Regions from separate parts of the Homo sapiens genome. Here region 2 is linked to region 1. The links are contacts of gene promoters, found by promoter capture Hi-C in human tissues and cell types (Jung and others, 2019). All regions are on one chromosome and are shown on one strand. The core of a region is centred on a gene start or on the middle of the fragment in contact, and the rest is flanking DNA. Distances in the headings are between cores, read along the strand shown. Region 1 holds the start of RAD21 (RAD21 cohesin complex component). Region 2 overlaps TRPS1 (transcriptional repressor GATA binding 1).

Region 1 (6,249 bases), core at 1,077-3,576:
ACATTCCAATTCCACTCTTTTAGTTATTTTGAAATATATAGTAAGTTATTAACTATAGTTTCCCTATTGTGCTACCAAACACTAGACTTTATTCCTTCTTTCTAATTGTATTTTTGTACCAAATCTGAGGGGGCAGATTTTGTACTCATCTGCCCCCTCCCCACTACCTTTCCCAGGCTCTGGTAACCATCATTCTACCTTCTATCTCAATGAGTTCTTTTTTTTTTTTTTAAGCTCCCACATATTAGTGTGAACATTCACACTAATGTCTTTCTGTGCCTGGTTTATTTCACTTAATGTCTTCCAGTTCTATCCATGTTGCAGCAAATGAAAGGACTTTTTTTCTTTTTTATGGCTGAAAAATATTATCTTGTGTATGTGTACCACATTTTCTTTACCCATCTATCCACTGATGGACACTTACGTTGATACCATATCTTGACAATTGTGAATCTTGCTGCAATAAATGTGAGAGGGCAGATACCACTCTGATGTACTGATTTCCTTTTTTTTTGGGGGGGGGTATTTACTCAGGAGTGGGATTGCTGGCTCATATGGTGGCTCTATATTTAGGTTTTTAAGGAATCTCTATACTGTTCTTCACAGTGCTGTACTAACATACATTCCTACCAACAGTGTACGAGTGTTTCTCTTTCTCCACATCTTTATCAGCATTCATTATTGCCTGTATTTTGGATAAAAGCCATTTCAACTGGGATGAGATTATACCTCATCCTAGTTTTGATATGCATTTCTCTGATGATTAGTGATGTTAAGCATTTTTTCATATCCCTGTTGGCCATTTGTATGTCTTTTTTGAGAAATAACCATTCAGGTCTTTTGCTCAATTTTAATTGGATTATTTTCCTATTATATTGTTTGAGCTCCTTATATATTATGGCTATTAATTCTGTGATAGATGAGTAGTTTGCAAGTATTTTCCCCCACTTGATGGGTTGTCTCTTCACTTTGTTGTTTGCTTTGCAGAAGGTTCTTAGCTTGGCATGATCCCATTTGTCCATTTTTGCTTTGCTTGCCTATGCTTTTAAGGTCTTACTAAGAAATATTTGGTTCTGGAGCATTTCCCTAACGTTTTCTTCTAGTAGTTTCAATAGTTTCAAATCTTAGATTCCAGTCTTCAAGCCATTTTGTTTTGATTTTTTTAATATGGCAAAAGATAGTGATCTGTTTCATTCTTCTACATATAGTTATCTAGTTTTTCCAGAACAATTTTTGGAAGAGACCATCCTTTTCCCAACGTATGTTCTTGGCAGCTTTGTCAGAAATTAGTTGACTGTATATGTATTGATTTATTTATAGGTCCTCTATTCTGTTCCGTTAGTCTATGTGTCTGTTTTTATGCCAGCACCATGCTGTTTTGTTTACTATCACTTTGTAGTATAATTTGAAGTCAGGTAATGTGATGCCTCCAGCTTTATTCTTTTGCTCAGGATTGCTTTGGCTATTCTTGGTCTTATTGTGGTTCCATATAAATTTTAGGATTTTTTTCCTCTTTCTGTGAAGAATGTCATTGATATTTTGATAGGGATTACATTGAATCTGTAGATTGCTCTGGGTAGTATGGAAATTTTAACAATATTGATTCTTCCAATCCATGAACATGGAATATATTTCCATTTTTGTGTGTCCTCTTCAATTTCTTTCATCACTGGAAAGATCTCTACAATAAAAACAAAAGTAAATTTCTTCGTGGTACAAGTAAGTCTTTTAAGATAAGAAATTTTAAGATTCCTCCCAAGCAATACTGAAAATTTCCAAAAGGCAGTTATTATCTCTGTTATATTAATCATTATATCCAGAGCCCAACGTGTAGCAAACAGAAGACCCTCTATAATATAGGTTGACTGAATAAATGAACCTCTATATTTTATGGAATTAGTTTGAGGTTTTTATGTTACTTTCATCCCTATAGAGCCATAAAATGAATTTTTTGGTGGGGGCACACAAAATTGCACCACGACAGCTTTTTTCTTTAAAACAAGCACAAGAATAAAGCTAAACGCAAATATTCACCGCACTGGAAAGCACTGCGCGTGCGCTATCTTACGCTATTGGCTAACACCGCAACTCTCAAAGACCCTCGCAAGAGAATCACCTTTGCGCTTGCTCAGTTGTGGACTCCACAAACAGAGGGCGGGTTCCAAAGAAAAGGAAATAGTCATTGCGCCTGCGCCGCTCCTTCTGGGGGGAGGGGGGGGCTTGGGCTGGCTGCGCAGGCGCACAGGTACCATTTTGACCGTAAACATCCTGCCGATTTGAACCGAGGATTTGGGCGGCAGGAAGAGCCGCGGCGTAACGGCAGCCATCTTGTTTGTTTGAGTGAATCGGAAAGGAGGCGCCGGCTGTGGCGGCGGCGGGAGCTGCTCGGAAGCTACACCTCGCAAGGGCTCCCCCCTTTCCCCACCCCCTCCCCCGACCCTTTTCCCCTCCCCGGGCCACCCAGCCCGCCCAACTCCCAGCGGAGAGCAAGGTAAGAGACTCGGCCGACCCCTTCTTTTCCTCCAGCTCCCTCCCCCCACCCTTTCCCCGCCGCTCTGCCGTCGGGGAGCCGGACTCCTGGGGGCGGGAGGGCGAGGGAGAAGGCAGCCCTCGCCGCGCCCACGCGTGCTGCCACCCTCCCGGCGCCCAAGCGGCGGCGCCACCCGCCCAGCCCCCTTCGCCCCGGGCCCGCCCTCGGCCCGGACCCATGCAGCTTGGGCCCGCATCATCGCTTGTTCGGTAACAAATGATTCTGATCCATTCTGAGATCTACAAAGGCTGTTACCCTGCAGGTCCATCTCACGTCCCCCAGGAGGCCGGGGAAACCCTGGGCTGCGGAGGGAGGGGAGGAGGTTTGAACGAGCCCGCTCTGGGGACCGGGCCGCCTACTCCGCGGGTAAAAATGGCTGTCTGGGAGGAGGCGGTGGCGGGCCCGGCGCCCGCGGTGCCAGCCCCGGGAGCAGCAACCTTCCGCCGAACTCGGGTGCGGGGCTCAAGAAAGTGCGGAGCTGGTGGGGCTGGGCGGGGTGGGGCGGGGGGTCGGCGGGTGCCCCTCGGCCAGTGACTGCTGCTGCCCTCCCGTTTTAAAAAGATAATTTTTACGTTGGGAATGCTGAATATTTCACAGACGCGTGGAAAAAGAGACGGAGGGAAGTTGCTTCTTTTTCCAAGGATATTTGCATAATTGGTTTTCCCCTGAACTTTTCTGATCATTCTTTAAAGTGATTAAGGATATCGGGTGTTGTAGAGACGCTCTGGGGGAGGTGTGTGTTTCTGATAAATGCTTGATGCCCTTTTCGTCGCTGAAAAAGGCTTTTTGCGAATGATCCGCTTTGATAGTGTGGGGTGACACTGTCGGGTTGTGCTGCCAGACTTAGCGGCCTTCTTCAAATTTGTAAGAGGGAAACCCTGGGGGATTTACTTGGTCACTCTGATTTGTTAGTGTCTTCAGCGTGAAAAAAAAAACAGCGTTTGTGCGAAGAGTTTCTGGGAAAGGCTTGTGTTTATCGGCTTCTTTTTGCAAGGGAAAGTTAATCTTTGTTGTCATTATACTGGTTAGAAGAGTAATTGGTTTTCAGGCAAAAATTTCTATTTTCTTAAATTGGGTGTAAATGCCAGCGGGCAGTGCGAGTCTATAGAATTTTGGAGACAGGCAGGAGAAGGTTTCTCAAATCGTGAAGTCATTAAATACCTTTGTTAATGTCGGAGGCAACTAATTATTTTTGGAAAGGCATTGATGAGGACATACGCCATATCTGATCTTCAAATAAGTTAACAGTTTGTATAGTTGAGGTGACAGCAGTGCATAACTAATAGACATAGTGCTTTTTTTTATACACAAGTCAGAATTACAAAAGAATTTCTGGTGAATTATTTTGTGAAACATACAAATTCTAAGAAACGCTTTTACAGTTTGGTACAGAATGGAAATTTTCTAATTCTTGAGAAATAAGGTTGTGTTTTTAGTTTAAATGTCAAACCAGAGTTGTTAGGCATGATTATACTGGCTGGTTAATGTTTTGCTGCAAGATTGTCTTCAGAGTTACTTTTCGCATCAGCAGTGGCACTATGTTAGGTGTGCCCTTGTATTTAATTTTCATAATCTTTTTTGATGAATATTATCCCAGTTTATAGTTGAGAAGTAACTTATTCACCGTTACAAAACAACTGAGCAAAGAGGGAGCTTAATTTGAACCTACGACTGTCTGATTGTAAAACTCTTGGTCAAAGGATGTTAGAACCAAAACAGAGGAGATTTCTAGTGTGCAGGGTTAGAAATATCTTCAGAGATCCTTCCCCCTACTCCCCTGAAGAGGTAGCTCCGTTCTGATCTGAGTTAGGTATTGACGTTTTCAAAGGTTAGGTAAACCACCAGATTTCAACCTTTCAGGTTTTCATAGTAGGGAAACTGAACTGCATAAAGGTTAGGCAGCTTAACTGCTAGTTAATGACAATAGCAGGATTATGTCTTTACTTCTGAGATAGTAGTTTTTACTTTGAATAGGTGGTGTACATTTATGTCCCGAGTTAAAATATGTGTGTGTGTGTGTGTGTGTGTGTGTATGTATATATATATATCAAACAGTACAAAAAGGTAGGCCTCACTTGCCCTGCATACCTACTTTCCAGAGGTAACCAGTATCACCAGTTTCATGTGTACGCCACAGGTATTTTAAGCTTATTCAAGAACTCGTAAATATATAGAGAAAGAGCATTCTTTTTTAAAACTCCAACTTTTTTGCACTTAACCTGGAGATTTTCCATGTTAGTACAAATGTTGTATTCTTGTTTAAAGTTGTACTGTACAATTGTCCCTTGATATTAAAGGGGAATTGGTTCCAGAACCAAAACCACGAATGCTCAAGTCGCTTATATGAAATAGTGTAGTATTTGCATATAACCTACTAACATCCCATATACTTCAAATCATCTCCATTTATGATATTACAATGTAAATGCTATGTTAATAGTTAATATAGTTGTTATAGTTTTTTATTAGTAGTATTTTTTATTATTGTGTTTTTTTGTCCCCCCCTCCAACAATTTTTGATCCTGGGTTGGTTTAGTCCATGGATGCAAGAAGCCATGGATAAGGAGGACCGACTATATTCCGTTGTTTGGGTTTATTAATTTTTCATATCACTTATTGATGGCCAAGTAGGTTATTTCGAATGTTCTGTTCTGCTCTGGCAAGGCAGCATAGTGTTGTAGTTAGAAGTGTGGATTCTGAAGTTCAAGTTCCACTTCCATTAAATACTAGTGACATTTACTTATCTTCATCTGTTTTCTCCATCTCTAAAATGGGCCAGTAATTTACTTCTGTAGGACAGTCATGAAGAGGTTGGATACATAAAACACGTAGTGCTTAGTAAGTTTTCTTAGGATTTTTTCGTGTTTGGTTTTTTGGTTTTGTCTTTAGTAATATGCATCTCCAAGTATATCTTTTGTATTGATTACTGAAAGTGCAAGTTCTGGCTAGAAAGTGTAAGTGAAATTTTTATAAAATGTTGTCATATTGTCCTTCAGAGAGGACAGTACCAATTTACACAACCGCAGTCCTGCCATGCTTTCTAATGAGTGAAATATTGGTAATGACTGATACTATCCTAGAAGCATGAGCCTCAGTTTGATTCTTTGAAACAGTCTTAAATTGCCATTTTTTGTATTCTTGAATATGTTCTAAAATAGCAATCTTTCTGCTGTTTCACATCAGACTTTAATTTTTTAGGGTCAATTGAAAAAAACTGCTTGCCGCTTTAGAAAAAAATGATTCTCAAATCATGAAATGCTAAGTTGTGCTCTGGTATCAAATGCAGATTTTCTGCACAGGGTTTTCATAAAGGATTTAGCAGAATATAGAATCTTCAAAATCTAAACAGATTAATCGACTTTTTTAAAGATTGGATGAAGTTTGGTATTATCAAGGAAAAAAAAATAGGCTTAAAAGGCAATTATAATTACACTTTCTCCTTATTCAGATATACACCAGGAGTCGATCCACCACTGCTCCTTTGGCTTCCTTTAGTTATTAGAGTGATTTCCTCTTGCTAATTGTTTCCCACATTAATTTTAGCATCACTCTGCCTTCCTTAGCCCCATCCTATGCCAAACAGGCTTCTGTTTAGGAATCTCTGCCTCTGCATAGCTGGGATATTTTAGGCACGGTGCTCTGACCAGCAGCTGAAGTGCTGGCCAGGAGCTACTGACACCTGTTGAAAAATGCCAGTAGTTTTAATTTTTAAAACGTCT
Region 2 (6,249 bases), core at 2,282-4,781, 1.3 Mb after region 1:
ACATGTTTTGAACCCAAATTACAGTAGTGTATAAATATATGCCTACAGAATGCATGTTTATATTTGAAACAATAAAATAGAACTTGAAAGTAACTACAATTATTCAGAAATTGTAAGCAATTTAAGAAATGTAAACTATCAGATTTTAAAAGTACCTTTTTAATTAAATAGTTTTTTCAATATAGCATTAATAGAGCAAGTATATTAATACATTTATATATACAGTTTCTAATACTAAAGTAAAACTTAATCATTTAAAAATACTATACAGAGTGATATCAAGAATTAAGTATGGAAAACTTGCCCAACAGAAAATGTTGATTTAATATAGTTCAATACTATGCTGGTAAATAATGGAAACATTTTGAAATAAAAGGCTGAATGTAGTTAGGATTGTGTTACAAAGCACATAATTAAAATGTTGCTTTCAGCATATTAGTCTTTCTGATAACTTTTTTTTTTAAACTGGTTTTAGCAATGAAAGTTTGCTGTACTTCTCAAAGTGAGGAAGGAAATATAAGAATCACAAGAAGAGCTAAAATTTCGAAATGTTCTCTTCATTAACATTAGTGGTTTTCTCCTTTTTTTGGCTTATGTCAGGGTCAGTGTTTGGCTTTTAGTTTTGTGTTCAATATGATATCATTTATGTATATTTTTATTTAGTAAATGTCTATATTTTTCCCTTGTTATTAGTATGGAATTGATCTTGATATAAAAATTTTCAGTTGCATATGCCTCTGTGTTGACTTCTGTGCTTTGAGTATGACAAAAGCCACATTGCCATAAACTTGATCTTATAAATTGCTCTAGGAAAACTAGGCTTTTTTTTGCATATTAATCACACAATATTTCTACAAAATTTTTGAGTATTTTCTTGTGTTAGTAGGAAGAAGTATTAAGGGCTTTAGAATCTTTGCTAGAAATAGTCTAAGCTTATATGACAACTTTATTATCTTAACATTTCTAGAATAGATCTTATAGAACATGAATCACCTCCTGAAAATGGTTACCAACATTTACTAATAATATTTTGAAAACCCAGTGTTTTTATTTAAAGTTTAGGTCTGTGAAGAGGTTAACATGTTTAAAATTACCTGTACCAACAGTATAAGTAAATTATTTTATATATTCCAATAGATGTTTCTTAATCATTTTAAACTAAGTAGTATAGTATAGTCAGCATTCATGTAAAGTTGTATACTTTTCTGACAAGTTTTTTTTTTATGATGTACATCTACACAAAGGTATTTATTTTTTAGATAAATTTATGCAGATGCAACTGTATTAATTTTATTGTTTCCTGAATAAGAAATTCTGGATTTTATTTTTGTAATGGAATTTTTAGATTGGATATTCCATTGCAGAAAACTTGGCTTTTTATCTGATAACTACATGAATAAGGATCCAAAAATCGATCATTAAATTTCACAAAAAAATTAACCAACATTGTGTAGTTTTTCATTTGTTAATAAAATACGGAAGTACAGTTAAGCTTATTGGGTGAGTCTTTAGGGGGAGCTCATGGAAAATCAACATTCAGGTAAACTCCTCCATGTTATTTGTCAAAACGGAATGTTATAGATAACTTGTAGCTCAGGTTCTTCCATAGGTTCAAATGCTGTAGTTATTAGAGCACTTTTTTCTTGCAGCTAGAGGAAAGATAAATCTCCTTGAGATTGATCTTGGTTTCCAGTTTAAATTTCTTTAGAAAAGTCTGTCAGTTGTAACATCTACATTTTGTGCTACTTGGCTTCAGCGGAGATGCTCAACCATGGGCCTGGGGAGTTGAGTTCCAAGTTCTGGAAGTTGAGTTCCAAGTTGAGCCACTGACTTTCAAAGGAAGGGCCTCCCAGGATCTCCGTTCATCTGTCGCTTGGAGAGGATCATGCTGCCTGCCACCCTCACAGGAGTGTTGTGCAGCTTAGTTAATTAACGTTTGTCAGGCCATTTGAGATCCTCAGATGCAGAGTGCTAGATAAGTGGAAATAGTCTGATTATTTGTTCATTTTGTAAGTGTGATACCAGGACAGTACAATGAGAATGTTATTTCCCCTTTTCTTCAGCAGCGTTAAATTTATAGTTTAAAGATTGTTGATACCGGACAGACTATTGAGATGCAAAAATGTTCTTTTGGGGACAGTCCATTGGCAGCCAAACAGACGTTTAAACAAGTGACAATGTTGAATGCCTTTACAACCACTGACAGAAGACTGCAGGAGCTTTTTTTTAACTAAAGATGGTCTGAAGTGAAAAGTGATATTCATTGTTTTGCTTCATATTTAATTAAAATGAAAGCAAAATTCCAGTTATCAAAGAGGTAGCACTGACTTAATGTTTATGTACATAACTGTTTTCTCACCCGATTTGGACTTTTTACATGTGCATAAGTAAAATACCAAAGAGATCAGACTATATCAGGAAAAATGGGAAGTATATACCTCTCTAAACACTGGTTATGAAGCCATGACTTTAGGCCCTGTTGGTAGTTTCTCTTTAGGTAGCAGTTGATATTTTCTTTGCCTGAGAGTAAAATAAATGATTAAAAACTATTGACTATATGCAGAGATGAAAAATCCTTGTACATGTCTCTGCTTCTGTGCCATATAGATGTATTTCTGTTGACATCTATTTGAAAAATATATGATTTAAACTCAAATATGTTTTAGTTTAGATTTTAAAAATACAATCCATGTATCAAATTCATTATGTGTAATAGTGAACATGACAGTTCTGTTTTACCGTGTAAAAGTGAAGTAGCTTTTTCTTATTTATTGATTATTCATCTTTTACATTTATATACCATTTTTGACAGTAGAAAGTTGTCAAATTCGTTCCATATTCCATAGGTATAGAAGTTTGGTTTTATTAGTTTGATTAATGAGATTTTTAAGCAATCTAATTTCTTTTCTATAAGTCTGCTTCATTAACCCACACATTTTTTAAAGCACTTTTTTTTTAATGCACACACAATAATTGTACATATTGTGGGGAACATAGTGCTGTTGTGATACATATAATGTGTGGTGGAAGGATTAGGGTAATTTGTATATCCATCACCTCAACATTTGTAATTTCTTTGTATTAGGGACATTCACTATTCCAGCTATTTGAAACTACATACTACTGTTAAGTACAGGCGTCCTACAGTGCTACAGAACACTGAAACTTACTCCTCCCGTCTAGCTATAACTTCATATCCTTCAACAAATCTCTGCCTATTCTCCCTTTCCCCCTACCCTTCCTATCCTCTAATATCTTCTCTTCCGTTTTTGGTTTCTACAAGATAAATTTTTTTTTTTTTTAGCTTCCACATATAAGTGAGAACATGCAGTGTTTAACTTTCTATTCCAGGCTTATTTCACTTAAAATAACGTTCGCCTGTTCTATTCACGTTGCTGCAAGTGACAGAATTTTATTCTTTTTTTATGACTGAATATATTCCATTGTGTGTATTTACCTCATTTTGTTTATTCATTTATCTGTCGTTGGACACCTAGGCTGATTCCGTATCTTGATTATTGTCAATAGTGCTGCAGTGAACATGGGGGTACAGGTGTCTCTTTAATATACTAATTTCCTTTCCTTTGGAAAAATACTCAGGAGAGGGATTGCTAGATCATGTATGTAGCTCTGTTTGCGGTTTTTTTGAGGAGCCTCCATACTGTTCTCCATAGTGGCTGCCCTAGTTTACACTCCCACCCACATTAATAGCACTTGAAAAACGACAACAACAATGTTTTTGTAACCTAGGCTGTTTGTGAGGTCTGGCATAGTTCTGCTGGCCCAGGTTTCTAAAGCAGGTGAAGCAGATGTATCTTAGTGAATTGGACTGTAGGTTTGCAGCTACTGTGAAATGTTATCCTTTAGTGCAGTATCTGTTCATTATTTCCTATATAACTATCTTTTGCTTGGCTTCTCTTTTCCATGGACTGCATGAGTCAGGACATAACAGGGCCCCCAAAAGAACCCATTGTTGAGCATTCTTAGATGTTGGAAGTGAAGAGTATACAGAAGGTGGCCCAAGTTTCAGGAGCACAGGGCCAGAATGATTCAAAAATGAGGTATGTAGTGTTGATGTGAATCTGGTAATTTTCCGGCAGAGCCCAGTCTGATGGGTCCATTTTACAGGCACATTAATACCTAAAATGCCACAACGAGGTTTTATTTTGGATTTTTGGGGATTTTGTTATTTTCACCAAAAAGGTAAATATTATCTCCATTGTCTCTCATATATATATATATATATATTTTTTTTTTTTCTTCTCTCCCTTCCATTAGATACTGTTCAAAACTTTCCTTAAGTGTTTGTAAGCAAAGGCATTGATTAGTAGACTGCTCTGCTTGTTAACTCAAGGAAGCTTGGCAAGCTAGGTACTGCTGTATCTAGTTGTGTTATCAGTTTAAGGAAAGGCAAATTGTTTCATTGATGTTTGAAGACCCTTTTTCCTTTTGGAGAAGCAATACTACTTATAGACTTTTATTATGAACTATAATTTACAAATACAAGGAAGTCTGGAACACAGCTTTATATCAGTGGTTAGGAGTGAAGCAAAGGAATCTTAGTTTTGTTTTTTTCTGATGACAGCACACTTGTGATAAATTGAGCGTTTGGCATCATTGTTCATCTCAGAATGATTAAATGCCTCCCTCTCACTTGTAATTTTATATGTTAACTTGCCTCTTTTAAACAAGGCAGTTTCTTAATTTTGAAGAATTACTTTGGACATATTAATTAGGAAAAGGATAAACCATTTTCTACCATGGAAATTTATATATGTGTAACATCATGAATAACCAGAAAATGCTAAGTATATACACTATAGATATCTATTTTTAAAGGCAAAATACACTTTATAATTTTTGCTACCATTAAAAAAGGTACTGATTATGAATCAAACTTTTATGAGAATTTAGGTACAAAATGGAAAAGATTTTTAAAATAGATTTCTGGTTAAAATGATATTTTGTGTGAAGGAAGTGATAAGATCCCTGACAACATGATTTATTGAATTGCATTTGCCTGTAGTGTTACATTTAGTTTAAATTTTTATACAAGACTGATGCTTGATCATAAAAAAAGTCTTGGTAGACAAAGCACATAGAATCTCAGGGAATTAACTTTCTGATTGTAGCTATATACATTGGGTAACACAAGAATACCTGTTTGTAGGTGTTAAATTTGAATTCTTAATGAAGAAAAGAAAATCTGGTGAAACTACTTTAAAACAATTGTATAGGAAAGCATTACAAAAAATATTTGGTTAAAATAGACGGATATTTATAACTGGTTGTCAATTTAGCATTCAGTTTCTAGGATTAAGCTTACTACCTTTCCATTAATTTATTACTGGATGGATTCCTTTCATCCTCACCAGAACTCTTTGAGGTTGAAACTATTATTATCCCCATCATTTAAATGAGTAAACTGAGGCTTGGATATTAAGTATTTTGCCTAGATCACACTGCTTATAATGGCAGACATTAAATTCTAGCTCTGGCAATTCTAGAGTCCCTGCTCATAACCATTGCATAGCCTCTTTTGGTTCAATATGGTTTGCTAATAAATACTTGGGTGACTTTCTACAGTTTCAGAATTAATTTGTTTCATCTAAGCATACACGTTTTTATGTGTGTATGTACAAAACAAAATACCTTTTTGAAATTACATAAGTGATACATGCTTATTGCGAAAGAGTTGGATAATACAATATACTGTAAAGAAGATGAAAACCACTCATAAATTCCAACCTGTAAATACTTTCGTGTTCATATTTTGGCATCTAATGTATCCTTTATGTATATTTAAATATATATTTTATTCAAGTATAGGATCATGTACCTCCCTGTTTTATAATTTTCTTTTTTAATTTTTCAGTGTATTGTGGACATCTTTTCTCATCAACAAATACATCCCACAATGTTCATTTTTGTGCCTCATTATACCATGGAATAGTGACATCCTAGTATGTTTAAGACATTCCTTATTAATGAACAATTAGGCTACTTCCAATTTTTAATTATAAAGGACATTTTGAAGGACTTCCTTGTACATATTATTCTATTGCTTTATCATCTTTTTGGGATAATTTCATGTAGTATATTTCCAGTTATTTAAATGAGAAAGTACATGGTTTATAACAAATGGTATTTAACGTCCAAGTCACTGCTATCTAAAGGGGTAATTTTTAAGGTATAAAATAATTTGGCTTATAAAAAATGCGTGGGAAAAATATCCTAGAAATATTTAAG

What was found. The method cuts DNA at HindIII sites, captures the fragments that hold promoters and counts their contacts. A contact is called where the count stands out against the background at its distance.
Region 2: a fragment that was not itself captured here is called in contact with the fragment with the promoter of RAD21 in region 1 in 1 of the 25 tissues and cell types used here (dorsolateral prefrontal cortex).

What each region holds. Positions count from the first base shown.
Region 1 is chr8:116,870,853-116,877,101 of GRCh38, reverse strand. RAD21 (RAD21 cohesin complex component) reads left to right here and starts at 2,326. Exons shown (of 14, transcript NM_006265.3): 1 at 2,326-2,491. It overlaps RAD21-AS1 (RAD21 antisense RNA 1), which reads right to left and starts at 2,678. Exons shown (of 2, transcript NR_033886.1): 1 at 2,117-2,678; 2 at 234-1,681. MIR3610 (microRNA 3610) reads left to right here and starts at 2,302; the gene lies at 2,302-2,374. RefSeq lists an enhancer at 2,329-2,378 and silencers at 2,489-2,808, 2,969-3,018. The HindIII fragment of the contact is 11,155 bases long and covers 1-5,516 here.
Region 2 is chr8:115,578,245-115,584,493 of GRCh38, reverse strand. All of the region lies in intron 5 of TRPS1 (transcriptional repressor GATA binding 1), which reads left to right. Among named protein-coding and RNA genes, the nearest start is that of TRPS1-AS1, 72 kb to the right of the region's middle. The HindIII fragment of the contact is 4,638 bases long and covers 1,213-5,850 here.